Regions from separate parts of the Homo sapiens genome. Here region 1 is linked to region 2. Evidence: promoter capture Hi-C in 16 types of primary human blood cells and fetal thymus (Javierre and others, 2016). All regions are on one chromosome and are shown on one strand. Each heading gives the region's core, a stretch centred on a gene start or on the middle of the fragment in contact. The rest is flanking DNA. Distances are from core to core; before and after follow the strand shown. Region 1 holds the start of SPATA32 (spermatogenesis associated 32). Region 2 has its middle 29 kb from the start of MAP3K14.

Region 1 (3,776 bases), core at 243-2,742, 85 kb after region 2:
CTCTGGCAGGGCAGGGCAGGGCAGTGACACTGTAGGAGCATAGCAAGCCAGGAGATGGGGTGAAGGGACACAGTCTTGAGCTGTCCACATGCATGTGACTCCTCAAACCTCTTCCAGATTTCTCTAAGAATAGCACCCCCTTCCCCATTGCCCCAGCTTAGCCTCTTCTCCCAGGGGAGCTACTCAGGACTCACGTAGCATTAAATCAGCTGTGAATCGTCAGGGGGTGTCTGCTAGCCTCAACCTCCTGGGGCAGGGGACGCCGAGACTCCGTGGGAGAAGCTCATTCCCACATCTTGCCAAGACAGCCTTTGTCCAGCTGTCCACATTGAGTCAGACTGCTCCCGGGGAGAGAGCCCCGGCCCCCAGCACATAAAGAACTGCAGCCTTGGTACTGCAGAGTCTGGGTTGTAGAGAACTCTTTGTAAGCAATAAAGTTTGGGGTGATGACAAATGTTTCCAGGCCATCGGTGTCCTCTCTCTTGCCTGCCGGCCTGCTGAACCTCACGACCCTAACAGCTGCCTCTCTTTGCCTTCTTGCTGAGATCTTTTCAAGTCCCCCTTGTTTTGGACAAGGACTGTTTCAGCCCTTGAGTGGGGCTGCTTTCCCACCACTCCTCCCAGTGGCTGCTTCTAGTCCCAACGCTGGGCTAGTCATTCAGACCAGTTAGGCAAGATACCTTGCCCGGTGGCATCAGGGAAGTCCCTCGCCAAAATATGCCAGGCTGAGGGGTGGAGGAGGAGGACAACAAAGCCTGCATGCTTTGTGCCACTGCCCAAGTTAGGCAGCCCCCTACCACCAGAAGGGAAATAGGGATGGGTTCTGGGCCCTGACCATCCAGGGATGCCGGATGCACACCACAGGCCCTCCACCCTCCCCTCCTGTCCTTGAGGCCTGGACTCTTAACCCTTTCCGCTGCCTCCTGAGCCCTGCATGGGGCCAGGGATGCCTTTGTGGGCTGAGTTCCTTGGTCATGGAGCTGGGGCACACGGGGTGCTGAGTTCCTTGGTCATGGAGCTGGGGCACACGGGGTGCTGAGTTCCTTGGTCATGGAGCTGGGGCACACGGGGTGCCTTATCGAATCTGGCTCCACACTCCCTGTGTGCACAAGTGTGTGTGCGCGCGGCTTGGGTTGGTTTAGCCGGTTCTTGGAAGGGCCCTGGGACCACGAAAAGGGCGGCAGCCCTGAGCCGCTGGCGTGCAGAGCGGGTGCAAGTCCTGTCCAGCACAGCCAGGCTTACCTGCCGCCTGCCTCTCGCTCTAGGCCCGCTGCGGAAGCGCGAGCCCCACCCCCGAGGTCTTCGGAGAGGAAGGAGTTCTGGCTTCGGGCCCGCAGCCTTCGGAGGACGCCTCACTCGGGCCGTCCCCCGTCCGCCCGCCCGAAACCTAAATGCGGCTCCCTGCCTGTGGGGTCGCGGCGGGGACGTCACAGAGGCGGCGACATCACAGGCACCGGCGCCTCTAATATTTCCAGCGCCCACCAGTCCCTCAGCCAAAGAGCACACTGGAGGCGGAGAGGCAGCATCCACCAGCCCGCTCCCCGCCTCCAGGACAGAGCCTCGGTCTGCATGGGGGTGACAGGTGGGAGCGGCCGAGCGCCCGGGGGCGAGGGTTGGGGCAGGCGGGGAAAGCGAAAGTGAGAGGGGGAGGGGCGCGAAGGGGGCGGTCAGGAATCCGCCCAGGGCCCGTTCCCCTGCTCCCAAACCCCCGGCACCTGAAAGGCAGGTCGACCCGCCGCCAAAGCCCACCCGGTGCCCCTGACTACGGCTCCCAGCCTCAGCCCCTGCGCGGTGCACACCCATGTGCTCTCACGGACACGCATGCGCGCCTTGGAGTAGGGACTGCAGAGTCAGTGGTTCTTGAAGGGGTTCTGAGACCACAGAAGGAGCAATGGCCTTGTGCACAGGAAACGACTCATGAATTATCCTGAACTGCAGATCCAAAAAATCACATCCAGTTGTCCCTCCTTGATGCTTGAGGCTTTGCAGGGAGGAGCGGCAGTCTTCAGCACATTTTTACGGAGCGCTTCGTTGATGCCTTGTACTCTTCTCTGAACCAATGAGCAAAGATGTTTGCCCCCAGTGCCCTGTGTCTCCCCTTCCCATAGGGGCGTCAGATCCCCCACTGAAATGGTGGCTTTCTTTTGGGGATCCTCTCTCCCAGAAGGGCATGGGCCAGCATTAAAAACGGTCAAAAATTAGGTGGGCATGATGGCTCAACGCCTGCAATCCCAACACTTCGGGAGGCAGAGGTGGGAGGATCACATGAGGCCAGGAGTTCAAGATCAGCCTAGGCAACATAGCGAGACTTTGTCCTCTACAGGAAATGTTTAAAATTAGACAGGTGTGGCGGCATGAGCCTGTAGTCCCAGCTACTTGGGAGGCTGAGCTGGGAGGCTCACTGGAGCCCAGGAGTTGCAGTGAGCTATGATGCTGCCACTCCAGCCTGGGCCACAGAGCAAGACCCTGTCAAAAAAAAAAAAAAAAAAACCAGAGGTCGGGTGCAGTGGCTCACGCCTGTAAGGTAAAACGTAGATTAGACAGCCAGGTCTGTCATGGAGAGGATTACACTGATTATTTGAATTGGGCTTTCAGGCATGAGTAGGACTTTGCCAGAAGAAGGCTTTCCAGGTATAAGAAATAGCATTTGCAAAGGCACTGGGTGCAGAAAGGCCTGCGGTACTCTGGGGGTAGCTTCGGCTTAGGGTGAGGGACAGGAAGCTGGATGCCAAGAGATGAAAAATGAAGGTAGAGATCAGACCAAGAGGCCACATGGAGTCTGGGGGTAACCGGAGACAAGTGAGATGTAGCAGGCTCACTCTGAGGTCATTGAAAATCCAGGTTGGAGGGGGACATAGTTGCAGTGGTCCCACTGGAAGACTAAAGAGATTTAAGACAGTGCAGTGAGTAGCATCCCAGAGTTTGGAGCCAGCCAGACCTGCCTTTGGGTCGTGTGCTGCTCTTAATAGCTGCATGACCTCATACACGTTTCCTCATCTGTGAGAGGAGAGCCGTGGCCAACTGGGCATAGGGTAGGTATGAAGACTGAATGTGCAAAGCACTCAGCACCAAGTGCCAAAGGGTAGGAAGTCATGGGTGTGTGCTGGCTCTGGTACTGGGAGATGAGGACAGCATCAGGGGTAGGAGGGCAGTAGCTGCGGAGGGAGGAGGAGTCACAAATGACCCAGGTTTCTCATTTGGGTGAAAGGATGAAGGATGAATAGGGCGAGGAGAGTGGGGTATGGAGAGATGACAGACTAGAAAGGGAGACAGGGGTCAGACAGGCAGAACCGTGGCAGCCACACTTAAGAGTCTGGACATACAAGATATGAATTTGAGGTAAGAAATTAGGCCAGGCATGGTGGCTCACGCCTGTAATCCCAACACTCTGGGAGGCCAAGATGGGAAGATCGCTTGAGCTCAGGAGTTTGAGACCAGCCTGGGCAACATACTGAGACCTCATCTCCTTTTTTTTTTTTTTTTGAGACAGAGTCTTGCTCTGTCACCCAGGCTGGAGTGCAATGGCACCATCTCGGCTCACTGCAACGTCTGCCTCCCGGGCCGAAGCCATCCTCCCTATCAAAACCTAACAAAGACATTACAAGAAAAGAAAATTATACACCGATATCCCTCATGAATATGCATGTGAAAATTCTGAAAAAAAGCCAATCAGATTCAACAACATAGAAAAAGGGTAATATATCACAACCAAATGAGGTTTATCCCAGTAACGCAAGGCTGATTTAACATTTTAAAAAATAAATTTATAGCTGGGC
Region 2 (4,103 bases), core at 26-2,525:
ACCTTGTAGTATAATTTGAAGTCCAGTAATGTGATGCTTCCAGATTGTTTTTGCTTAGCATTGCTTTAGCTATTTGGGCTCTTTTTTGGTTCCATATGAATTTTAGGATTGTTTTTTCTAGTTCTGTGAAAAATGATGATGATGTTTTGATGGGAATTACATTGAATCTGTAGATTGCTTTGGGTAGTATGGACATTTTCACAATACTGATTCTTCCCATCCATGAGCATAAGATGTGTTTCCATTTGTTTGTGTCATCTGTGATTTCTTTCAGCAATGTTCTGTAGTTTTCCTTGTAGAGATCTTTCACCTCCTTGGTTAAGTCTGTTCCTAGGTATTGTATTTTATTTATTTATTTATTTATTGCAGCTGTTGAAAAAGGGATTGATTTCTTGATTTGATTCTCAGCTTGGTCGTTGTTAGTGTATAGCAGTGCTACTAATTTGTGCACATTGATTCTGTAACCTGAGACTTTACTGAATTCATTTATCAGATCTAAGAGCCTTTTCGATGAGTCTTTAGGGTTTTCTAGGTATACGATCATATCACCAGAAAACAGGGATAGTTTGACTTTCTCTTTTCCAATTTGGACGCCCTTTGTTTCTCTTGCCTGATCTCTCTGCCTAGGACTTCCAGTATAAATTTTTCTTATTTTTAATTTGACAAAGCCTCATTCTGTACCAGAGAATGCATCTATATTCATAATATGTATTGGTCTGTAATTTTCTCTTTTTTGTGTTATCTTTGCCTGGTTTTGGTATCAGGCCTCAAAGAATGAGTTGGGAAGTGCCTAAGTTTCTTTTTGACTAAACTGTTGGTCAAACTTATATCTTGATATTTACAACACTCAGGAAAAGCCAAGGCCCTGCAAAGTTTATCTGGTATTCTCAAGTGGAACATACATCACCATCAACTGGGCACTGTTCAAAGCAAATTCCTGGTTCCTGAGCTCCGGAGACTCTGATTTGCAAAGTCTGCAGCAGGGCTGGGTACTCTCTATTTCCTTTTTTTTTTTTTTTTTTTTTTTGAGACGGAGCCTCACTCTGTCGTCCAGGCTAGAGTGCAATGGCACAATCTTGGCTCACCGCAATCTCCGCCTCCCAGGTTCAAGCGATTCTCCTGCCTCAGCCTCCTGAGTATCACCATGCCCAGCTAATTTTTGTATTTTTAATAGAGATGGGGTTTTGCTGTGTTGGCTGGGCTGGTCTCAAACTCCTGACCTCAGATGATCCACCCACCTCAGCCTCCCAAAGTGCTGGGATTATAGGCGTGAGCCACCATGACCGGCCAGTACTCTCTAACAAGCACCCTTAAGAGATTCTCAGATGAGCACCCTCTCATTTCCCTTTAAGAAACATTGATAGAGTTGCCCAAGCTGACCCAGCTAAGCAGCCAAAGAGGATGGGCTAGAAAAGTGATGTTTCTTCACCCAGGAGTCTGAGCTTTTAGCGTGTTCGTGTCCATAATGAATATCTAAGGCAGAAGTTAGAGTATGCATTATTTCCCAAAATTATTTGTCCACAAAAATCTCTTATCTTTTGGATAAGCACCTCATAGGATTGATGTTTCACAGCATATACTTTGGGAAGCACTGACCCAGAATTATGCAAATGTCTCTTTGGAATCTCATGGGGCTTTTTTTCTAAGCACTAACGCACTGTGGCTTGAAGCTGCTTTTGTATGTGTCACCATCAGTCAGATGTTTGCCGGGGCCTCCATTAGGATTAGCTGATTTAGGCGCTTGCCTCGAGAGCAAAATTTCAGGAGGTGCCAAAACTCCATAATCAAGAAAAATTATTATTTGGAGGCTGGGTCAACAAGACAGCGCATTGGCAGCCAGTGGAGTAAGGAAGGGATACAATGGTGTAGCGTAGGGGGTGCTTAATACTCACCGTGAGTGGAACCGAGAGCCGGGGTCTATCTCGGTGGGGCAGCAGGGCAGTCAGGCCAGGCATCTGGCCTGTCTCTCCTGTAGAAACTGCTCCAAAGGAGGGGCAGCCCTCTCTCACCTCTTGACTCCCATCCCAGGCACAATACATGGAACACAGGATTATTCAACTCCCTTAGAGACAGAGATGATGCCAAGTTGACTTACCTCCCAGCTCCTGCTCAAGTATCTAACCCACTGAGCACAAGGAGACTCAGTCAATGCCTGTGGGCAGACAAGGGGCTGGATCTCATCTGGAAAGCGTCCCTGGTCTTTGTGTGGGTGCCTTGCTTTGGATGTGCTCCCAAATCTGACTCGGGGGGAGGGAGGCTGGGTGCCAAAGAGTTTCTGGAAAAAGTCTGTCCTTTTCCGAATACCCTTCCTCTCTGTGTCCAACAGAACTTGACCTCAAATGTGCAAGTTCTAACATTCAAAAGAGTTGGGTTTGGGCCTGATTGGGCTAGTGCTAGATGTTTGTGATTTATGCAATCACTGGGGTCTGATTAAGCTCCACAGCTGGAAGGCCTTCAGCCATGACTTTGGGGAAAAAAAAAGAAAAGAAAAAAACACAAAACTCTGAAAGCCAAGAGTAGGAACAGCTTCCTGGGCCCACCCTTCAGGCTGGTTCCAGGACACTCCCTTACTCCACCACTACCCACTCATGTATCTCATTAAAAGGGCTTTATAGGTCTGTCTCTTCTTTGGAATTTCCATTTCTTCTTTATTCCAAGAACTATAAAAGCCTCATCAATTAATTGCTAACCACAGGAATCAGAACAGGGTTCCCTTTAACTAAGTGTGCAAAAGAGTTATTACAGAGGCTCCACGCTGATCTGCTCAAAAGAGGAAATGTTTTCTCTTAGACGACATCTAACTGAAGATAAGCCTCCAGCTGACTATAGAAGATTACTCTCTATGCAACAAAAAGCTGGTTCCCCACGGCCTCTACTTGTCAACACCTCATAAATTTACTTTGAGTTGCTTCATAAGCTCAAAAGTACAGTGATATCTTCTGGGAATTAAGCTTTGTAATAACTTGATTGTGTTAAACAAATAAACTTCAGAAGGCAGGGCAAGCTAGACCCCAGGGAAGCTACCCGGATGTGTGGCCTTGAGGGTTGCTGGAAGGCAGGTTCTTAGAGACTGTGTCCCTAGCTCTAGGATGCTGGCCCTCAAACAAATGTCATTTCACAGAGCAGGACCTGAGACCTAGGGTGAGAGAGGGGGTGATTGGTCCATATTCACACAGTGGCAAAGCTGGGGTTAGGATCTGGGTGTTGTTGCCAGATCCTCTCTCTTTCCCTACCGACCCCCAGGATCCAGCACCTCCACTCTGCTCCCCACCCTCCTAGGAGGGCAGGAAAGAATCTGACAAGACTGGGCGCAGTGGCTCACACCTATAATCCCAGCACTTTGAGGGGCCAAGATGGGAGGATCACTTGAGGCCAGGAGTTCAAGACCAGCCTTGTCAACATAGCGAGACCCCATCTCTATTAAAAAAAAATAGAAAAAAAAAGGAAAGACTCTTACAGCTGCCCAATGGAACATGTGTAGGAATGAGAGTCAGCCATTTTCTCTCCTCAATCAGTCTCTGCATTTTAAGTCATTTATCTTTATTGTGCTATGAAAGTCTTTGGGTTGTGTCAAATGGATTTCAGGCAGGGAGGGAGCAACTGGTGAGAAGTTAGGAGGCTGCTGAAGTCATACCTGGAGTAAAACAGAAGTTCTCACCCCAGACTGCACAGTAGAATCACTGGGGGTCATTTTTTTCCGTGTGTGTGTGTGTGTGTGTGTGTGTGAAGCACCTGTCTGCTGTTGAAAGGGGGGTCTTTTTTTTTTTTTTTTTTTTTGAGACGGAGTCTCGCTCTGTCGCCCAGGCTGGAGTGCAGTGGCATGATCTCGGCTGACTGCAAGCTCCGCCTCCTGGGTTCACGCCATTCTCCCGCCTCAGCCTCCCGAGTAGCTGGGACTACAGGCGCCCGCCACCACACCTGGCTAATTTTTTTGTATTTTTAGTAGAGATGGGATTTCACCGTGTTCGCCAGGATGGTCTCAATCTCCTGACCTCGTGATCCACCCACTTCAGCCTCCCAAAGTGCTGAGATTACAGGCATGAGCCACCACGCCCGGCCGAAAGGGGGGTCATTTTTAAAATCCCAAATGTGCAGACCACATC

Evidence for each region. The method cuts DNA at HindIII sites, captures the fragments that hold promoters and counts their contacts. A CHiCAGO score of 5 or more calls a contact.
Region 1: the fragment with the promoter of SPATA32 here is called in contact with a fragment that was not itself captured in region 2 in 10 of 17 cell types (neutrophils, activated CD4 T cells, monocytes and 7 more); the score reaches 9.5 in neutrophils.

The regions. Positions count from the first base shown.
Region 1 is chr17:45,259,810-45,263,585 of GRCh38, reverse strand. SPATA32 (spermatogenesis associated 32) reads left to right here and starts at 1,492. Exons shown (of 5, transcript NM_152343.3): 1 at 1,492-1,582. The coding sequence starts at 1,570. It overlaps MAP3K14 (mitogen-activated protein kinase kinase kinase 14), which reads left to right. Exons shown (of 16, transcript NM_003954.5): 16 at 1-467. All of the region lies in intron 2 of MAP3K14-AS1 (MAP3K14 antisense RNA 1), which reads right to left. RefSeq lists enhancers at 451-1,054, 1,489-1,578, 1,055-1,660 and silencers at 1,609-1,658, 1,729-1,848. The HindIII fragment of the contact is 9,151 bases long and covers 1-3,776 here.
Region 2 is chr17:45,344,454-45,348,556 of GRCh38, reverse strand. No RefSeq gene overlaps it. Among named protein-coding and RNA genes, the nearest start is that of MAP3K14, 29 kb to the right of the region's middle. The HindIII fragment of the contact is 3,357 bases long and covers 1-2,953 here.